Regions from separate parts of the Homo sapiens genome. Here region 1 is linked to region 2. Evidence: promoter capture Hi-C in 16 types of primary human blood cells and fetal thymus (Javierre and others, 2016). All regions are on one chromosome and are shown on one strand. The core of a region is centred on a gene start or on the middle of the fragment in contact, and the rest is flanking DNA. Distances in the headings are between cores, read along the strand shown.

The links. The method cuts DNA at HindIII sites, captures the fragments that hold promoters and counts their contacts. A CHiCAGO score of 5 or more calls a contact.
Region 1: a fragment that was not itself captured here is called in contact with the fragment with the promoter of MUSK in region 2 in 2 of 17 cell types (M1 macrophages and megakaryocytes); the score reaches 6.1 in M1 macrophages.

The regions. Positions count from the first base shown.
Region 1 is chr9:111,277,442-111,282,085 of GRCh38, reverse strand. The region is part of intron 1 of LOC105376219 (a long non-coding RNA gene); the gene reads left to right. Among named protein-coding and RNA genes, the nearest start is that of MIR7702, 8.6 kb to the right of the region's middle. The HindIII fragment of the contact is 754 bases long and covers 2,019-2,772 here.
Region 2 is chr9:110,667,247-110,671,769 of GRCh38, reverse strand. MUSK (muscle associated receptor tyrosine kinase) reads right to left here and starts at 2,979. Exons shown (of 15, transcript NM_005592.4): 1 at 2,787-2,979. The coding sequence starts at 2,865. The HindIII fragment of the contact is 6,269 bases long and covers 1-4,523 here.

The DNA of each region.
Region 1 (4,644 bases), core at 1,146-3,645, 610 kb before region 2:
ACTCACAATCTGCCTACACGTATTGCTTATCTTTTAGCCTTGGGTTCTGTACTACTTGGGTGAATAAACTTCAGATGACATCTGTTGCCATTGGTAGAAAAGCCTGAACTAAGGGGTCTATGCCTGGAAGTGGAGCACAGTTATCACAAAACTAATGGGTTGGCTGGGCGCAGTGGCTCATGTCTGTAATCCCAGCACTTTGGGAGGCCGAGACGTGTAGATCACCTGAGGTCAGGAGTTCCAGACCAGCCCGGCCAACATAGCGAAACCTCGTCTCTACTAAAAATACAAAAATTAGCCAGGCATGGTGGCATGTGCCTGTAATCCCAGCTACTAGGGGGTGCTGAGGCAGTAGGCTCACTTGAACCTGGGAGGCGGAGGTTGCAGTGAGCCGAGATTGAGCCACTGTACTCCAGCTTGGGCAACAGAGTGTGACTCTGTCTTAAAAAAAAAAATGCTGATGGGTTGCAAGATTTTGATAGAAGTGTGGGCCCATTTTGCCATAAATTTATCAGGAAAAAAAGCTGGATCATACCTAAGTTACCGAACCACCTGGGCTTCACTAGTGACCTTATGTGGCAGTGTCAGCCCGAGAGGCAGTAGGGTATGGGGCCATCTGGTAGACAAAATTTTCTCTCTGGCTCCGTCCATGTTCCTGCAAAGGACATGATCTCACTCTTTTTTATGGCTGCCTAGTATTTCATGGTGTATATGTACCACATTTTCTTTATCCAGTCTACCTTTGATGGACATTTAGGTTAATTCCACGTCTTTGCTATTGTGAATAGTGACACAATGAACATATGCATACATGCATCTTTATGATATAACAATTTCTTTTCCTTTTATACATCCAGTAATGGGATTGCTGGATCGAATGGTAGTTCTGTTTCTAGCTCTTTGAGGAATCACCACACTGCTTTCCATAATGGTTGAATTGATTTACGCTCCCACCAATGGTGCATAAGTGTTCTCTTTTCTCCACAACCTTGTCAGCATTTGTTATTTTTTGACTTGTTAATAATAGCCATTCTGGCTGGTGTGAGATGGTATCTCCTTGTGGTTTTGATTTGCATTTCTCTAATGATGAGTGATATTGAGCTTTTTTTCATATGCTTGTTGGCCACATCTATATCTTCTTTGGAAGTGTCTGTTTTGTGTCCTTTGTCCACTTTTTAATGGGGTTGCTTGTTTTTTTCTTATAAATTTGTTTAAATTCCTGATAGATGCTGGATACTAGACCTTTATCAGATGCATAGTTTGCAAATATTTTCTCCCATTCTGTAGGTTGTCTGTTTTCTCTGTTTCTTTTGCTGTGCAGAAGCTCTTTTGTTTGATTAAATCCCATTTGTCAATTTTTGCTTTTGTTGCAATTACTTTTGGCATCTTTGTCATGAACTCTTTGCCTGTTCCTATGTCCAGAATGGTATTGCCTGGATTGTCTTCCAGGGTTTTTATAGTTTTGGGTTATACATTTAAGTCTTTAATCCATCTTGAGTTGATTTTCGTATATGGGGTAAGGAAGAGGTCCAATCTTCTGCATATGGCTAGCCAGTTATCCCAGTACCATTTATTGAATAGGGAGTCCTTTCCTCATTGCTTGTTTTTATCAGCTTTGTCAAAGATCAGATGGTTGTAGATGTATGTCCTTATTTCTGGGCTTTCTGTTTTGTTCCTTTGGCCATTATCCTTAGCAAACTAACACAGGAACAGAAAATCAAATACTGCATGTTCTTACTTATAAGTGGGAGCTAAATGATGACAACACATGGACACAAAGACGGGAACAACAGGCGCTGGGGCCACCTTGAGGGTGGAGGGTGGGAGGAGGGAGAGGATCAGAAAAAATAACTATTGGGTACTAGGCTTAGCATCTGGGTGACAAAATAATCTGTACAAAAAACCTCTGTGACATGAGTTTATTTATATAACAAACTTGCACATGTACCCCTGAACCTAAAATAAAAGTTATTTTTTTTTTCTCTCTCTAAAAGGCATTTGTAACCAGGAATGAAGCTTTGAATTGAACAGTCAATTCTTGGGGTTGGTGGACTTATCTTGGATGTGATAGTGGTGTGTTGAAGGAGGAAGAATAAAAGGCATGCTTTAAAGAGAGATGAAGGATTCAAAAATAAGTGACTTTGTTTTATATCCTAAGCTACTAAAGCAGGAACTATCTGTTGCATAATATTAATTCTATGAGATTTTCCTTAAAACTGGAAAGCAGAGAAATCACTTTCCAATTGTAAAGGATGTTTATGTTTTTAATTATTACATTCAATCTAGAATATGTAAAAATCCCATAAAAGGGTAAAATGTCAATATTTAGATAACAGAGGTCATGGTATTATGCAAACATGGTGAATCCTAGAAGGCTTTAGGCAGATTTTTCTCTCTCTCACTTGGGAGAAAGAGCACATCCTAACAGTCTCTGGTCGGTGTTATTTATCTGAAAGGGGAATTTCTACTTGTTTTGAATGAAACAAAAATATCTAGGGCATACTTTGATAGGTAGAAACAAAATGTACAATTTTGGGGTCTTAGTATTTCTGTGGTATTTGTCTAATTAGAATCTCATTTGACTGCATGTGTTCCCAAGCTAGCATAGAATTCTTTTTTTTTTTTTAAAAAAAAAAGCCATAAAATTACACATCACAGAACGTAAATTCTGAATAAAAGACTTGAGCAGGAAATAGGAGTTTTATGGCCTTTTAACTCTTTTGTATGACTTACCTTGCAACTCAGTGGTGAAGAAGAGCATCATGGGAAGCTTATGACTTTGAAATCATACTGATCAGGGTTTGAATTGTTGCTGTAGCATTTGCTAGCAAGTGTGACCTTGAACCTCAGTTTCCTTATTCATAAAATCGACCTTGTTATAAGAATAAGAAATCTGTGGCCAGGTGCAGTGACTCACACCTGTAATCCCAACACTTTGGGAAGCTGAGACAAAAGGATCGCTTGAGCCCAGGACTTTGAGACCAGCCTGGGCTACAGGGCAAAATGCTTTCTCTGCAAAAGATATTAAAAAAAAAAATAGCTGGGCATGGTGGCACGTCCCTACAGTCCTGACTAGTTGGGAGACTGAGGTGGGAGAATTACCTGAGTCCAGGAGGTTGAGGCTGCAGTGAGCCGAGATAGTGTCACTGCACTTCAGCCTGGGTGACTGAGCAAGACTCTGTCTCACAAAAAAAAAAAAAGAAAAATTTGTTAAATAAAGTTCCAGGCACCTAGCAGCTACTCTTTAATGGTAACTATTATTATGAGGACATGTGTTTTTTATTCATGAGTTGTACTTTTATGTGTATACATTCGTATAAAATCTATACATAATATTTTTTAGGTTCTTACATCTTTTGCCATCTTTTCAGAAATATACATCATATTAGTAAGCATCAACAATTGATTACATCAGTAATCAACCCCCTTTGTCCAACAAGATAGTATAAAATTATAAAAACTGTAACTTATTTTATGCATTGTTTATATAGATATTATTTTACATTCATTTATAATCTGCATCTATGATTCCTTTTGTACTTGGGCACAAAGTCTAAAGATTGTATTTAGAGTTTTCTAAAGCCTATGAAAAATTATTAGAGGGCAGAGTTCAACAGAATTTTAAGGAGCAAAGGAAATAAGATAATTTCAAAAGATAATGAAGTTAAGTAAATGTGAAAAAAAAAATCTCCATTGGAAATCAAGGGAAAGGAAGCAATAAGATGCCACTCCCCACTTAATGAAATAACAAAGAAAAGAAGAAAAATTGTAAGATAGAAGTTGAAATTCTTAAAATGACAATACCCCAAATTTGAAGAAAAAGTAATGAAAATGATTTTTTTTATTATTTTTGGTAAGAGCACATTTTGAAGGAAAAAAATCATCATAGAAAGCTGATTTGATTATATTTATTGAGAATGAAAATTGTTTATTGACTTTGACTCAATATCCAACTCCTCCCAGGAATTTAGAATGCATTGATTCAGGGAAAGGCTATTGAAGATATATGTTCTTTACAACATTTGAAGCAACGTAAATGCTTAAATTTGGGGGATGGTTAAGCAAATCTCAGCATAGTCATTTAATGGGCTATTGTGAAGTGGGTGAAAAATCATGAAGACTATAAAGCATGTGAAAAATTGCGAATGACAGACTTTTAAAGAGAAAAGAAAAACATAAAAATTGATTATAGGCTATGAACACAGTATGTTTTTTAAGTGGTCCTTCTCTATGCTGGGAGGAGGCTGGTCTGGCTCATTTCTCAAGTCCTTGAATCCCTAGGTCCTGTGAGAGATGTTCTCCCTTGAGTCCTCCTTCCCTACCCCTAAAGCCAGCTTGCTGCTTACAGAAAATACCTTTTGCCCTCTCTCTGGTTCCTTTGACCCACACTTCATTATACAGACTAAATTCTTTAAAGAACAATTCTGCCTTGTGTTTTAGTGTCCTCATAGATGTCTAAATCCAGTCCTTTTCTGTTTACAATTTATATCCACAGGGCTCCAGCACAGATCCTTAGGGGAAAGGGATCGTGCTGGAGAAAAATCTGAGCTGCAAACACAACGCTGTACTGAAAATGACACCTTCCTTCTGGTCCTTACCAGTGTGCTTCGCCTAAGCATGCATGCCACATGTTTCCTTTCCTTA
Region 2 (4,523 bases), core at 1,730-4,229:
AAATGTTATTGATGTATGTAGTTAAGCCAATTATCCAGTGGAACATTGGCTACTTTCATAAATGACAGTTTGTGAAATTCTACTACTTGGGTTATGGCACTGAATTCATCATTGAAAATATCACTAGTTGAAATGATTCAGAAAGACAATGATTCTTCCCCTTATCATTGGGCATTAGTAGCCTTAATTAAACTAAAATGAAAACTATGAACAATTAATTCTACAAAGTTGGATATTAATTTTTATCAAAAAATGATGTGCAGAAAGTCAGAAAATAATCCACTGAATACTTTTGTGTTATTTTAAATATGTCAATTTATTAGCTAATACATATTGTACAATTTCCTTTATGCATTCATGATAAAGGACTTAGGAAGAAGTATATTATCTAAAAAACTCTTTTTGTTATTACCGTCTGCCAAGAATAGGGAAAACAGTAGTTTTCTAGAAATAGTAGAAATAGTTTGGGTGGGCCATTTTTATTAGTTTCAGTAGTATAATGGCTGGCGCAGTGGCTCATGCCTGTAATCCCAGCACTTTGGGAGGCCGAGGCAGGCAGATCACGAGGTCAAGAGATGGAGACCATCTTGGCCAACATGGTGAAACCCTGTCTCTACTAAAAATATAAAAATTAGCCGAGTGTGGTGGCTTGCACCTGTAGTCCCAGGTATTTGCGAGTCTGAGGCAGGAGTATAGCTTGAACCTGGGAGGAGGAGGTTGCAGTGAGCTGAGATCACACCACTGCACTGCAGCCTGGCAACAGAACGAGACTCTGTCTCAAATAATAATAATAATAATGAAAATAATAAAATTTTATTGTGGTTCTTTTCTACCAATGTATTCCTCACCCTTCAACATTTAAAATTTTAAGGATTATGCTTTCATGATATTAGTTATTCTCAGAACTGCTGTATGTAGTAAATAAATGTTTGTTCTCCTAGACATGGTATTTTGGCTAAGAGTGATGTTAAACTCATACTAATTTAGATTTTACAGTACAATAGACTGAGAAAAAATTGCTTAAATTTTTTGATTTTAAAACCTAATTCTAGTAGTAAATAAATTATAAGAAATGAAATTGGGTGAATGATCTGGTTAGTTTATTTAAAAGTCAGGGTGTTTGGCTTTGTTATCTCTATGCCACTATATTTCAATATTTTCAAAATAGAGATAGTGTGCATTTGAATTAAGGGCTTTATTTGTAAAGTTTGGAAATGAAAATCAATTCTTTCTAGAATATAAATTAAGACTTATTCAGATAGAGAGATTTTGGGGGTTTTGTGTGTGTGTACAACAAATCCTTATTTGAATCATCAAAATCAATTGTCCTGCTCTTTATAAGACTGTATTTTAGTATTTAACCCTATCATTTTTATGTAACTGCGTGGTTTAGAAATATACAAATAATACTTAAGACAACCCATACGTTCAAACATCCAGGTGGGGCCTTACCGGACATCCGTTGTTTGATCAGGAAGTATTAAAATAATCTGAAGCCAATGTTAAGTCTTTCTGACTATTATTAGCTGTTTGAAAAGATCTAGAGTCTCTTTTATCTGTAGATGCCTTAAAGTATTCATTAGAAATTAAATGTTTAAATACATTTGAAGATACCATTATACTCAAGTAAAATGGAAAAAGAGAAGCAACAAAATGAAACAAAAAAATCTGTGAAATCAGATTGTTTGTGAAGAAACCCGCATCTTATTTGCATGTGAACTTTGACCTTATGGCTCCAGAATTTTTAGTGAACCAGAAAATCTAAAGATACATTTTGCATCTATATACAGATACCACCTTCATTTATCTACACAATACAAACTGTTTCAGTGCTTTGATTAATATAAAGGGAAAATGATTAATTTGAACATGTCCTGAAGCAAAAATCTCTTTTTACTCTATGGTATAACATTAAATTTGAAAACTCTTGTATTGATACCACTCGATCTGCTTTCTCATGTCTTTTTAAAAAAAGATTTCAGTGATACCCTTAGTCACTTTGCAAATCACAGACTTTCCAGTCTTTCTGATTTCAAATACGCTAGTCCCAGTTTCATAATACACTGGCCAGAAACTATATCACTGGACATTCTTGCTACTGCAACAGGTGTTTGTCAGTTTCTTAAGTTGCTTTCCTTTCCCCTGAGGTGGTGTTATTTCCGGTACATTCCAAAGGCTCTGAAAAAAACTTTTGCAGTCTCTTGCCAAGCCAAATCATGACTCCAGCCTCAAAGTTATTTAAAATCCATTGTCTTCCGGGTTTGTTACACAGGCAAATTGTGTACGTCTTTCTGTATTTCCAATTTTTAGCAACTAAAATATTTATTAAGAGTTTGGCAAAGCTAAAACTGAAAATAAAAGTGATTTTTATTCAGAAGCAAATGCTCTGGATGTCTGAGAATGGGGTTGATTCTATTCCTGGCAAACCTGATGCGAAAAGGTTGTCATCATCCACTTAGACCACCCTGAAATTTGACATTCGCATAAACAAAATAGACCTTGATAACTTGCAGTGTACATGCTTATGTTTTGCCCTAGAAGTCAGAGCTCTGCATGCACTATGTGGCTAAGCCTTTTATTGCAGAACTTCGGAGTAAAATATTGGTAGAGAGACCATCAACCAATTGCTTATGTATATAATTTCCTCCCTCATCATACATTTCACCCTTACTTCTTCAAGTAAAACCCAAGCCCACCATACTATAAATCAGTCTTGGTCATATCTCATATACACACACTTTACAACCATGACAAGACAACAAGAAGACACGATTGCTCAAACCAACCTTTTGGAAGTTTCTCAGTTCCGCTGAAGGCAACCAGAGTAAGAATATGTACCAGTGGAATGTTGACGAGCTCTCTCATGATTAATCCAGGCTCACGCAGGACGAAGTTCCTTCTGGACAACGCAAGGAAAATGGCTCCACAGTTTACATTTTAAAGCATACTTTGTTGCAAAAGGGTTGTCTGCTAATGACTGTTTGTGTCAGCAGCTCCACAGGCTCTAAGTATAATCAGGAATTCTCAGACTTGGCTGCAATGATGGACACAGCCAGCTGGTGAGCATCCACGTAGGCCAGTAATGCAAGTGTAGGGCTGGAGGAACAAGGGCAAGAAAATCCCTTTAGAATCCCTTTTAAGACAGTGGCAGAAGGACAATACCAGATGCCTTTTGCAACCATCGCTGTATTCCCAGAGGTATAGGTGTCCTGACCTTCGAATTCAGCACCCCACCTCTCCCGGACTCAAACCAGAAATCTGGGTCTATTCAGTCTTCAGTCCTCCCCATCTCTCACCCCACCCCCACTCCCACATTCAGCCCATTCCAATTCCTACAGATTTTATCAACCAAATAGTCCTTGTACCTTCTCTCTGTCTTGGGTCTTAACCATTCTATATCTTTTTTCAGATAGTCCCTCCTGCTCAAAAGCCTTTAGGGGCTCATCATCACATAAAAATATATTTAAACCTGCCTAATCTGCCTAATATGACAGGCTTTACTGGAATCTGCATGCTTTGTTGTATGTTAGTATTGTCTTTTACGATCCTGTTTTTGTTTTTTGTTTTTTTTTTTTTTCAGAGTCAGGGTCTTGCTCTGTTGCCCAGGCTGGAGTGCAATGGGGTAATCATAGCTCACTGCAACCTCAGCCTCCTGGACTCAAGTGATCCTTTCAGAGTAGCTAGGACTACAGGCACTGCCACTACAGCAGGCTAATTTATTTTTATTTTTTGGAGAGATGTGGTCAGGCTATGTTACCCAGGCTGGTCTCAAACTGCTGGCCTCAAATGATGATTCCACCTCGGCCTCTCAAAGTGCTGGGAATGCAGGCGTGAGCTACTGTGCCCAGCCTCATTCAGCTTCCTTTATTCAACAACCTGCTGATGGTTCCCTGTATACAGCTTTCCTACCTCCATGAATTGCTCATACTGTTTGCTTCTCTTGGAATACTACTCCCCTCCTTTCCACTCAGTTCACACATCTCTCAGCTTGATCATCCTCTCCTCCTGGGAGAAAAATTCCATATCTTCCCAAAGCTGTGTTACGTTTGTCTTCTCTGGGTTTCCATAATATACTGTGCATATCTCTACCATTGCAATGACCATATTGTTTTGATTTTTTCCCCTTTGTGTTGGTGTCTTCTTCATTCTTTGGCCTCGTGAGTTCATTTATAGAACTTTAGAGTCAGGTAGTGTGATGCCGCCAGCTTTGTTCTTTTTGCTTAGGATTGCCTTGGCTATATGGGCTCTTTTTTGGTTCCATATGAAATTTAAAGTAGTTTTTTCTAATTCTGTGAAGAAAGTCAATGGTAGCTTGATGGGGATAGCATTGAATCTATAAATTACCTTGGGCAGTACAGCCATTTTCACAATATTGATTCTTCCTATCATGAGCATGGAATGTTTTTCCATTTATTTGTGTCCTCTTTTATTCCCTTGAGCAGTGGTTTGTAGTTCTCCTTGAAGAGGTCCTTCATATCCCTTGTAAGTTGGATTCCTAGGTATTTTATTCTCTTTGTAGCAAT